Regions from separate parts of the Homo sapiens genome. Here regions 1 and 3 are each linked to region 2. The links are contacts of gene promoters, found by promoter capture Hi-C in human tissues and cell types (Jung and others, 2019). All regions are on one chromosome and are shown on one strand. Each heading gives the region's core, a stretch centred on a gene start or on the middle of the fragment in contact. The rest is flanking DNA. Distances are from core to core; before and after follow the strand shown. Region 1 overlaps ADAMTS16 (ADAM metallopeptidase with thrombospondin type 1 motif 16). Region 2 holds the start of ADAMTS16 (ADAM metallopeptidase with thrombospondin type 1 motif 16). Region 3 overlaps LINC01020 (long intergenic non-protein coding RNA 1020).

Region 1 (3,833 bases), core at 900-3,399, 93 kb after region 2:
AACAGTGCTTCTTTGATAAACATCCTTGCTTTTGAGACAGCGCTCCTGTCTTCCACTAACCTGACCTCATTCTGGGGCTTCGAATCCTGTTCTTCATCTTCAAACCAAGAGAGATTTTCCCAGAAATATTTTCAGTTATTCAACCTGTTGAAATTCCATTTTTATGTTTCATGTCTCCTGCATTAGAAAGCTATGACCAGATGGTTTTTAAAAAGGGGGGAAAAGAAAACGACAACAACTAGCACACACCTGGCATCTCCTTCCTCTCTGACAACCGGTGCAACCTCACTCCTGTCCCCACACCTGTAGGATGCTGTCCAAGAGCAGGAGCCTATTCCAGGCAATGGGCTTCTCCTTGAGCCTGAGACAGTGGACTTTGTTCTACACCGGGTGGGAGGGCAGGCAGGGATGGAAGAGATGATGTTGTTTTGCTTAAAGAAAAGAAATGAATGGATGAGGCTTTACTCTTCAGAATTTCTTGTTTTTAAATGGAATTGTTCTTACTTAAATAGCATTAAATGGGGCCATTTGAACTGCCATAGTATGTGCCAACACTGGTCAGATATCAGTAGTTTGATATGTGTTACCCTAATACCTCAACTAATAATAGAAGTATTACTTTCCTCCTATGAAAGTAGCCTTTTTTTTTTTCTGTCAGTACAAATCTAGTGGCTCTAATCTTGGAGATAAAAAGGGACTTGACTTCAGGTCTCCCCAGCCCACAGACCAAGCTCTTCTCACTCCACTGGGGCCAGGACAAGAGACAAACATCTTCCTTCTTCCTCGCAACAGACAGTCTGGACAGTCTGGACCTTTAAAATCTTAGAAGTTCATACCAAACCACCCAGGGAACCACCGCTGTTGGACACGGTGTTAAATAGTGCATAGCACTGATGTGTGGTGCAGTGAATTTGCCATGCGGAATTTAGCATGAATTAAAATGAATGAGCACTTGTCTGGAGAAAGGGGAAGAGATAGCATCTCCAGCCTTCGTGGGGACAGATGAAATTCCACATGGATTGCTTCATCACCCTGGAAGCTGCGTGACCTCTAACATGGCATCAGTTAATCGTCCCAAGGCTCCGAGCCCAGGTGCTTTGGGGGGAAAGCACAGACTATGGGCCTGAAATGACAAGGTGTTGAGCCATGTGGAGCCTCCAGCTGTGCTTTCCTACCTGAGACTCTCTCTGTTCTGAACATGAGATGTGAAAAGCACCTTGTTTTCAGGACAGGTCAGAGTTCACCGACTTGGGAGTTGAACAGCCAGACTAAGTATTCAGATAACACTCCTTCATTAAAAGTGTCAAGTTTCCGGGAGATCAGACATTTGAAAATGATTTTTCTATTCATTTTCCCTGTATGTGAATTTATAGGAGGATGCTAGGTTGGGTAAGGAAAAAAAAAACAACATTGAATGTACTGTATTTATATTAGGTGCTGCTTGAGTGTAGGGGGAGGCTAATGTCTGCATAGTTTACAAAATTCCCCACTGCTCAGCCTTATAGCAGTGATGAGATGAACCCATCTATCCATCTGTGTGAGTCAAGTCAACTTATTTATGTTGAAAATTTTAGTGGTGCCGGGGAGGACAGTGTGTGAAATATGGTGATGAAGGCCCCAAGCCCACCCATGGCCACTGGTCGGACTGGTCTTCTTGGTCCCCATGCTCCAGGACCTGCGGAGGGGGAGTATCTCATAGGAGTCGCCTCTGCACCAACCCCAAGTAAGTATGCCTTGACCTCCTTCCTCACAAACGACTGATTTCCATGCCATGAACCCTCCAAGCAGTATGCCTGTGTCTCAGCTCTTTTTTTTTTTTTTTTTTTTTGAGATGGAGTCTCGCTCTGTCACCCAGGCTGGAGTGCAGTGGTGTGATCTTGGCTCACTGCAACCTCCGCCTCCCGGATTCAAGCTATTCTCCTGCCTCAGCCTCCCAAGTAGCTGGGACTATAGGTGCCACCACCACGCCCTCCTAATTTTTGTATTTCTAGTAGAGACACGGTTTTACCATGTTGGTCAGGCTGGTCTCGAACTCCTGACCTTAGGTAATCCACCCGCCGTGACCTCCCAAAGTGCTGGGATTACAGGTATGAGCCATCGCGCCCGGCCTCAGCTCTTAATAGCAAGCCTGTACTGTACATATAATCGTAAGAAGCACTGAATAGGAAAGGTATTTCACTCAAGCATTTCTTAATTACCTCTCTGTGCTATAACTTAAGATGCTTATAACTACCTGACCACAGCAAAAAAATAACAGCAGCAACAGTGATATTCAGGAATTGAATTTTAACCACATTTACTTGACATACCAAGGATCTGCTTAAAACAAATAAATAAATCATAAGAAAAGTGTATAGAATACAAATAAATAAGATCAGTAAGAACAATGGTTTTACGTGGAAAAAAGCAAATTTGGGGGTTTTCCATCAAATATATTTACCTTCACAACAGGAGGTTTAACTGCCAGCTTCTGTAAGAAGTAAGAATGAATGTGAGAAGCATCACCAGTGTGCGGAAGTGAAGAGGCTTTAATTTTTAATTTTTTAAATTTAACTTTTATTTCAAGTTCAGGGGTAGAGTATAGGTTTGTTACATAAGCAAACTTGTGTCACGGGTGTGTGTTGTGCAGATTATTTCATCGCCCAGGTATTAAACCTAGTATTCATTAGTTATTTTTTGCAGTCCTCTCCTTCCTCCCACCCTCCACCTTCCAACAGGCCACAGTGTGTATTGTTTCCCTTTATATGTCCATGTGTTCTCATCATTCAGCTCTCACTTATAAGTGAGAACATGCGGTATTTGGTTTTCTGTCCCTGCGTTAGCTTATTAAGGATAAAGGTCTCCAGGCTCCATCCATGTTCCTGCAAACAACATGATCTCTTCCTTTTTTATGGCTGCATGGTATTCCATGGTGTGTATGTACCACATTTTCATTATCTGGTCTAACATTGATGGGCGTTTAGGTTGACTCCATGTCTTCGCTATTGTGAAGGTGCTGCACAATGAACATTCATGTGCGTGTGTCTTTATGGTAGAATGATTTATATTCCTTTGGATATATACTCAGTAATGGGATTGCTGGGTCAAATGATATTTCTTTTTGTAGGTTTTTGAGTAATTGCCACACTGTCTTCCACAATGGTTGAATTAACTTACACTCCTACCAAAGTGTATAAGTGTTCCTTTTCCTCCATAACCTCGCCAGCACCTGTTATCTTTTAGCATTTTAATAGTAGCCATTCTGACTGGTGTTTTTCACATCTCCCTTTGCCCTTAAGCTTGTTTAAGATGTGTCACTTGGCTTGTTGTTTCAGTCCCATCTTTAAAGCATGAGCTCACCTCACCCCCTACGCCACGCTGTACCCCTTGCGCTGCCCGCATTACCAGTGTGTACATGCAAATTCTCTGGGGTGAGCTGTCAGTGCCAACCAGCAAAGGTGACTGGTTCTTTAGTCTTGGTCTTTGGGTCCTGGCCTTGTCACCAGAAGACTGGTGGTGGAAAGAAATTTTGGTCTTGAAAGCAAAGTCATTGAACTTCCCTCTGAGTTCCACATTCTCTCAAATGTGCTATCCTGGGAAAGTGTGGTCCTCCTCAATCAGCCCCTCCCTGTGCAGGGTGAGGACAGCCCTGCCCACCCTGCCTCACCACTGCAGAGGCACTGGGCCCAGAGAGGAGCAAAGACAGGCCAGCCTGCCCTGCTGCTCTTGTAAAGGATTCACTCAATAGAAAAGGGAGTGCAACCTTACCATTCGTGTGTAAGAATGTGTTCTAGACCACTTAGAAATCCACTTTTCCAGCTGGGCGTGGTGGCTTCTACCTGTAATCCCAGTAC
Region 2 (3,944 bases), core at 124-2,623:
GCGCCCGGCCTACTGCTCACTCTTTGGGTCCACTCTGCTTTCATGAGCTGTAACACTCACCGTGAAGATCTGCAGCTTCACTCCTGAGCCCAGCGAGACCACGAGCCCACCGGGAAGAACGAACAACTCCAGAGGCTCTGCCTTAAGAGCTGTAACACTCACCGCCTAGGTCTGCAGCTTCAATCCTGAGCCAGCGAGACCACGAACCCACCAGAAGGAAGAAACTCCGAACACATCTGAACATCAGAAGTAACAAACTCCAGACGCACCACCTTAAGAGCTGTACCCACTCACCGCGAGGGTATGCGGCTTCATTCTTGAAGTCAGTGAGACCAAGAACCCACCAATTCCAGACACACTATGGGCTCACAGCGTGTACTCGCGCACACGCAGTCAGGTGTGGATGTACACCCGCGCACACCCAGGCACATGTACACCCGCGCGCTCACACACCCCATCCAGCTACAGCAGAATTCTGGCCAGGCTGTTGACCGCACACCTGCTGCCTCCTTGGCCACCCTGTCCACACAGTAGCCCGATCGACCCCCGTGGCGGCCGAGACCCAGGCCCATCCGCAGCCCTGAGACCTCCCTAGGGATTGCACCCAGCAGCCAGTCACCGGCCTCCGCGGCCTGGCCAGTTGAGGGTGGCCGTGACCGCGGGGCCAGGAGCGCCGCCACATCTCGGGGCAAATGGCGCGGGGGAAGAGTTTCCTCCTCAGCCTCCCCGTCTCCGATCGCTCCGCAAACTCCAGAGCGAGGCACGCGCCTTTAAAGGCAGGTCCGCGGCTCTCCCACGTCCTGGCGCCCGGTTTTCCGCACCCAGTGTCCCCACAGCTGTGCCCGGGCACAGAGGCGCGGCCAGACCGCACTCCGCGGGCTGCAGGTGTCCCGGCCTCTGGCGGCGCCGGTGCGGCCCGGAGGTGGGAGCCCGCGGAGCCACTGCAGTAGCTGGAGTCCCGCCGAGTCCCCAGCCCCAAGGCAGGGCAGGAGCGCGCACCGGCCGGAGGTCCATGCTGAGCATCGCCCGCGCCGGTGCCCGGCAGCCTCTCCAACTGTGTGGTCCCCGCGCGGGCAGAGAGGCACGGACTGCAGGCCGTGGGCAGCTCCATCTTCCCGCGTCCTCCTCCTCTGGCGCTGCCCGCTGTCTCCCGCCTTCCCTCTGCTCCCCGCTCGCCTCCGCCTCAGCGCCCCGCTGACCTCGCCTCCTCCCCTCTGCTCTTTGTCCCTGCACTCTCCCCTCCTCGGTCCTCTGACCCCCCCGCCCTCACCTCCTCCCCTCCTCTCTCCCCTGCCCGCCCCGCGCTCTCCCACCGCTCCCGCCGCCCCCGCCGCCGCGGCTGCCACTCCGCCCCCCGCGCCGCACGGAGCTTCAGTAATAACCCCGGCGCGGCGGCGGAGTCGCTGTGGGGAATCCTCCCGCGCTCTGCCTGGGTCGGGTCCTCCCTGCCCGCTCGCACGCTGCCGGCCGGGGACCCTCCGGTGGCCCCTAGCCCCTCGGAGCGCTCCTGGATGAAGCCCCGCGCGCGCGGATGGCGGGGCTTGGCGGCGCTGTGGATGCTGTTGGCGCAGGTGGCCGAGCAGGTGAGTCCCGGGCGCTCCCACCAGCGCGGAAACCGCGGGTCCGGACAGCTGGAGGCGAGTCCCCCGCGGCTCCTCTCCCGCGGACCCCGCCGTCTCACCGCGATGTCGCCGCTGTTTTCCGCAGGCACCTGCGTGCGCCATGGGACCCGCAGCGGCAGCGCCTGGGAGCCCGAGCGTCCCGCGTCCTCCTCCACCCGCGGAGCGGCCGGGCTGGATGGAAAAGGGCGGTAAGTCCGTGAGGTGGGGGCTTCTAATCCTTGCCATTTAGCAGCTCGTAATCTCCGTGCCGCTGGTTTATTAGGTGCTGTGAATGTTCACGACTCTGTGGAACCCTACTTTTAAGATGCTGTTGTGAACTTTTTTTTTTTTTAACTGTATGAGCGAGCCCCGATGAGTGGATTTCCACCAATATTTACATTTTATTCCCTGGCAAAACGGTTTGCCAGAGTTATTGATATAACATTAGGAAAAAGGTGAGGAAGTTCATTTTATTTTATTCTAAAGAGCTTAGGAAGAATCTAAAGCTATTAATGTATGCATCAAAGCCGTCATAAAGAGCAAATTACTTTCTTTTCCGTCCCCTTCTACATCCTCGGATCCTCCTTCCCGTCCCCAACCTTTCCTCCTTCTCCTCCTTTATAGATTAAAATATTCCTCTATCGTTGCTTATTCTCAGTGAAGGAGATAAAAGAAGCGCTTAGCATCTCAATACCAAAGTTAATGCTCCAACAATCAGGGCGTACTTCAAACATAATAGTGCCTGAAATGGCTAATCAGCTGATTGTGACACCATCAGCAACGTTCATATCCTGGGCCACAATTTGACATGAGGGCAAGTCTTATTCTTTTTCAATGCATGCTTTTACTTCTGCCACTTACAAGTGACATTTGGAAATTTGCTGTCTTATGGAAAGGGATCTCTGTGTCTTCATACTGCATCAGGTAAATGAGAACGCAGGTGTGTCGCACTGGTTGCTAGGTGGTTTTTTAACCTGAACCCATCCAATGACAGTTAATAAATATTATTTTGCATTGTTACCAACAATAAATTGCCGTATCAAATGTTAATATTAATTGACTTTTATAGGAAGAACTAGGTTTCATTCTCTCAATGTATTTCCAGAAGATCTAGAAAATTAAAGTTAACAATTCAGAATTTCTCAGTATAGTTATTTCAATTTGATAAAATAACATAAAGGCAAGCACTTAATATATGCATTAACTTTTGAAATTATTCCCTGCCAAATGAGTACACAAATAGTATATAAGGTGACCGGTGTCAGATTGACGCTCACCATAGTACCTTTTTGAGAACCACCAGGGGGCGCTAGGTGCAAATGATATAAAATGTTAAAAAAAATTGTCACAGTGAATTTACAAGAGAAAGTTAATTATCTGTCCATTTACAGACTATCCTCTTGTGGTTGTCCTTGTCCTTTTTAGGGTTTTGCTTACAATACTAAAAGTTAATTCTTACAATTTTAAAGGTTAATTCTAATTCACCTTTTTAAGTAAGATTTTTGTAAAAAAAAAAAAAAAAATTCTAGTTCCCTAAAACCATGAAAATTCCAGAGGGACTCAGGAGATTTCCACAATAGTTTATGGCATTTATGAAGTTTTATTTAAGATAAAACACATTATAGACACAGAAGAAAGAAGAAGAAAAGCCAGGGCTTCGTGCCTAAGTGTGCTTTTCTCCTAAAGTGATTCAATCTGCTTCAGCATCCTCTCTGGGAGTGGGGTGCCAGTGTGCTGCTCTGAACACCTGGCACCACAGTTGTTGTCACAACGTATCGTCTCCATGACAACCACTTATCTGGCTTGGTAAGAACCTGAAGGGGAAGAGGCAAACCCTTCTTAGTGAAGTTCTAGCCCAGTGGACACAGCACACACCCTCCTCCCCTACCTTCTATGCACTTTAGCTCCTTAATTATAAATGGCTAATGTGTGAGTCTGGACATCCACAACAAGCTTTTATGCCACCAGAGAAAAGATCCTCCTCAACAGTGTTGCCTGTTTCCCTCTGACCTGGAGCAGAAGAGCTAGAAGACACTTGGTGACTGCTGGGGTCAACTTACTGTTGCCTGTCTAGGTATCCATTAGACAAGTTGGTTCTGAAATAACTAATTGTAGCCATACATTTTGTTTAAAGTAGCGCATGACTCAAACTATTATTGCAAATCATTCTTGGTGGCTGAAGTAATTACAAAATAGCAAAGAGAACAAAGCTGGAGGTGTCACACACTACCTACCTGACTTCAAACTATGCTACAAGGCTACAGTAACCAAAAAAGCATGGTACTGGTACCAAAACAGATATATAGATCAATAGAACAGAACAGAGACCTCAGAAATAACACC
Region 3 (3,968 bases), core at 1,279-3,778, 74 kb before region 2:
TTCTATCAGAAAGGAACTTTGGGGTATCCTGGAACAGAAGGCACAGGGTGCCACAATCAAGCGTAGGAGCAGAGCTCAGACTTTGCCAGGGAACCACAGGCTGAGTGGACAGCAGGTCTGTGAGGTTTCTACAGGTACCATGAGAGAAAGAGAGACAGAGCCAGCATGCCCCCCTCCTTGCCAGGAACATGGCACTAACCCAGATAGCTGCTGCCTCATCCAGAAAGACTTTCTAACCCTTTATGTCTCCACTTTCCAAGTCCTGACCTCCACCCAAAAGGAGGAGCGAGGAAAACCAGGCAGGCTGGCATCCTCCTGCTCCAAATTGTCAAGCTGGTGATGGTCTCTCCATAGGGAAGGATGTATGCCTTGGGTGTTATGAGAAATTGAAACAGGAAACAGTCTCAACTTTCTAAATTGCTAAAAAATGAGCATGTCCTACTGAAACTAATGGAAAAGATGGGAAACCTGTTTGACAAAGTGTTCAAGGGTGAGACGGGAGATTTGAGAAGCTAAGAATGTGTCCAGAGGTGAGGCAAAAGACAGTGAAGTTAATTTCTTGTTTATGAACGGAAGTAAAATGTGCACCATGCTCATTCCCTAATGTGGGGTAATCATTCATAAGCATATCTTCATTTGTCTTCCTTAGGTTCTTAACAGTTGTCCCTTCTGTACAGTGCTATAGTTGTCATGGGTCCTGCCTATGGCATTAGGTTTTAGCACTCACAGTGGAGAACACAGGAGAAGGTCATCCTTGCCCAAAGACTTGCTCCAGCCTGTTTGCTCCACATTTAGCAGGCATAAATGTATAAGAGATCAACTAGGTTGTTGACTAAGGAGGAAAATTCCTATCATAAAGAATAAAACAAGCCGGGCATGCTGGCTCATGCCTGTAATCTCAGCACTATGGGAGGCCAAGGCAGGTGGATCAATTGAGGTAAGGAGTTTGAGACCAGCCTGGCCAACATGGTCAAACCCCGTCTCTACTAAAAATACAAAAATTAGCTGGATGTGGTGGCAGGCGCCTATAATTCCATCTACTCAGGAGGCTGAGGCACGAGAACGCTCGAACCTGGGAGGCGGAGGTTGCAGTGAGATGAGATGGCACCACTGCACTTCAGCCTGGGTGATAGAACAAGACTCAGTCTCAAAAAATAAAAAAATAAATGAAAGAATCAACACTTCGGAGCAAATTATAGATATGGGAGTGGAAGGGGTGTATGTCAGAAATACCTTCAAGGATTCACGTTGAATCATTGACAGTGGTAATACCATTAAGAAAATTGGAAAAAAATCTATAGGGAATCTGTTTGGAGAGGCCCCTGACAAAGCTTTGCTTATGTGTGTTTACTGATGCCACGGACATCCAAGCAGATGATAGGAGCAGAAGGCTAAAGAAGTTAAAGGTCAAGGAGTAATCCAAGGAGAGAAAGAAATGAGCCAACACTTAACCCATGTTTGAAGCTTGGGTGGTGAGAGAGAGAATGCGCTTCTAAGTTTAGGTCCTGTTTGTCATTAAAAAAGCTAGACTCATATTAATGTGTCAAGTGTTATAAATGTTATGAAGAAAATCCTACAGGAACACAAATGAGGAAGTGATTCCTGCTGGGTGGGAGGCAGTCAAAATTTAGCCGACTCTTGAAGGATAGATGACAGATATGAGGATAGACCTCAGGAGGGAGCTTCCAGCAGAAGCTGTGATGTGATGCCAGCTGTAGAGGCAGGAAGCCCAGGGCGGCTCACGCTGCCAGCCTCTGGGGTCTGAGGAGGGCATACAGCAAAGCAACTTGGTGGGGATAGGTGTCACCAGATCAGATGAGAGACAAGGACTTGTATCTGGTACTAATTTTTGTGAAGTAATGGGTCTATCTATGGTGCTAAGACAGGCAGAGGGCTTTGATGAGAACTGAAGGTTTTTTGGAACAAAGCAACAAAGATGATAAGGATGATAGCTGGAGAGATGAAGAAAGAGTCCTCCTCCTCTCCAGAAGGGTTTCTGTGGGAGCTCATGGCAGTGGGAGCTCATGGCAGAGTGATAATAAGAGCACAGCCAGCACCGTGGCAAAGGGGAGGGCAAGGGAGAGGCACACAGGCTCAGGGACAGATCAATTGCCAGGCGAAGGAAACCAGGTGAAACTGAAGACAGCTGTCAGTTGTTGAGCCTAAACCTCAGAATCATGGTGAGGAGCATGTTAAGTAACAACAAGCAAAGACTCGGTCTTGTATTGGACATGAATACAAGGCATTGCTGGGACACCTAGATGCACACCTGGAGCCAGCTGAACGAAGGTAGAGAGAGAAAGTTGAGACTGCACTTGAGACGGGAGAGTTGAAGCCATAGACCTTAGATGGGTGGTTCTCGGACTTCAGCCCACTGCAGCAGCACCTGGAGGACTCCTTACAGCACAGACTGCTGGACCCACACCCAGAGCTTCTCAGCCAGCAGGGCTGGGAGGAAATTGGCACTTCCTGGGCAGGAGATACTGGTGCTGCTAGTTGTCTGGGGACCACACTTTAGAACTACTGCCTTAAAAGTCACTGAGGAGGCAGTGGCTCAAAGTGTGGTCTCTGGACAACTAGCAGCACAAGTTCTTTCTATGGGGAAAGAACTGAAAAGAACTGAAACAAAAACAGGCCCCCGCCCTCAAGAGGGGGGAAAAAAAGTCAGCCCTGTTCCCCTGAGAGTCTGATTTAGTTGGCCTGGGCCCAGATGATGTCATTGGTATTTTTATTGCTCTCCAGGTGGTTCTGACATGCTTCCAGGGTTGAGAAACACTGATTAAGGAGGAGAAAAGAAAGCAATTTATTTAAAAATTTTTAAAAGAAACAGACAAAAAGCCCACTTTTTTTGGCACTGATCTAATTCTCTTTTCTTTCCTCAGGAAAAGCAGTTGAAATACCATTAGTTAACAGATTGCCCAATGAAGTCGATGACAACTGTGATAACAAGTTACTCACTATCACAGCGTCTCCAAGAGATGAACAGTGGATGATGCTTCCAAAGCACAGATGTCCCTCTCCTCCTCAACCTTCTCTCCCCAGAAAGATGTCAACACTGTGGAGATTGTGCTATGAAGATACCTGGTGTGGCATTGCAATAGATGAAATATTAAGGGCAATTCAACAATTTTCTGAACAAATACATGGATTTAACTTGAAGTTGAATTTAATTTGACTTCAAGAAAAATTATATTTCTGGTCCTCCTATGATCATGCACTAAGAATTATTTAACTGCAGATACAATTGTTACCTTTAGAGCTAGAAGGCCTCATTTTAGAATTAAAATGAATGGCAACCCAGACAGATAAAGTCGAGTCGTGATCATCCCACTGCGGAGGCAGAGCCAGTGCTGGCCATCCCCCGACCACCCCAACACACTCCAGGTCTCACACATTTAATCTCTCTCTCTGCCAAGGGAATTTTTTCTTTCCATTTATTCTTAGAAACAACTAAGGGAGTTTTAAGTTAAATACATGCTGCCAAATTGAATCCAAGGAAACTAAAGTCAAATATATTAGCAAACACTTAATGTCCTCTCCATTTTGACATTTCTCCCTCAATTCCTATTTCTGAGTAAAGGCTGTTCAGATGAATAAAAACATATTTTCAGAAATCTGAGCTCATAAGACCTATAGGTCTGTGAAGTCACAGACCGTGCACTGTCAGCAGTCAGCAATTCTGCTGGGTTGAATTGGCATGTTTCAAACTATGTATTTTTGTTAAAAAAAAAAAAAAAGGTGTGTAAATGCATTTACAAAATAGTTTGTACTCTTTCCCAGTAATTCATAGTTGCCTTCACAGCACCCAGTTCCGGATTTCACACCAAGCCTTTGCTGAGGATATGAGAGTAATAAAAAGGGGAGCCCTGGTTCTTCCTCTCCTTTAGTGTCTTTCCTGGAAGTGGACTGCGAGAAGAGCTTCTTCAGCCACCTTCTGCCTGCAGACAACCTCCATGAGTTTGCTTTAG

The links. The method cuts DNA at HindIII sites, captures the fragments that hold promoters and counts their contacts. A contact is called where the count stands out against the background at its distance.
Region 1: a fragment that was not itself captured here is called in contact with the fragment with the promoter of ADAMTS16 in region 2 in 4 of the 25 tissues and cell types used here (hippocampus, liver, mesendoderm cells and 1 more).
Region 3: a fragment that was not itself captured here is called in contact with the fragment with the promoter of ADAMTS16 in region 2 in 2 of the 25 tissues and cell types used here (liver and mesendoderm cells).

The regions. Positions count from the first base shown.
Region 1 is chr5:5,230,794-5,234,626 of GRCh38, forward strand. It overlaps ADAMTS16 (ADAM metallopeptidase with thrombospondin type 1 motif 16), which reads left to right. Exons shown (of 23, transcript NM_139056.4): 12 at 1,575-1,723. Among named protein-coding and RNA genes, the nearest start is that of ADAMTS16-AS1, 56 kb to the left of the region's middle. The HindIII fragment of the contact is 7,140 bases long and covers 1-3,833 here.
Region 2 is chr5:5,138,957-5,142,900 of GRCh38, forward strand. ADAMTS16 (ADAM metallopeptidase with thrombospondin type 1 motif 16) reads left to right here and starts at 1,374. Exons shown (of 23, transcript NM_139056.4): 1 at 1,374-1,583; 2 at 1,708-1,810. The coding sequence starts at 1,512. It overlaps ADAMTS16-DT (ADAMTS16 divergent transcript), which reads right to left and starts at 1,098. Exons shown (of 4, transcript NR_109915.1): 1 at 1,000-1,098. It overlaps ADAMTS16-AS1 (ADAMTS16 antisense RNA 1), which reads right to left. Exons shown (of 2, transcript NR_198969.1): 2 at 3,182-3,415. RefSeq lists an enhancer at 580-1,146. The HindIII fragment of the contact is 9,507 bases long and covers 1-3,944 here.
Region 3 is chr5:5,064,021-5,067,988 of GRCh38, forward strand. It overlaps LINC01020 (long intergenic non-protein coding RNA 1020), which reads left to right. Exons shown (of 7, transcript NR_026994.1): 5 at 2,883-3,084; 6 at 3,803-3,968. Among named protein-coding and RNA genes, the nearest start is that of LINC02121, 12 kb to the right of the region's middle. The HindIII fragment of the contact is 4,806 bases long and covers 126-3,968 here.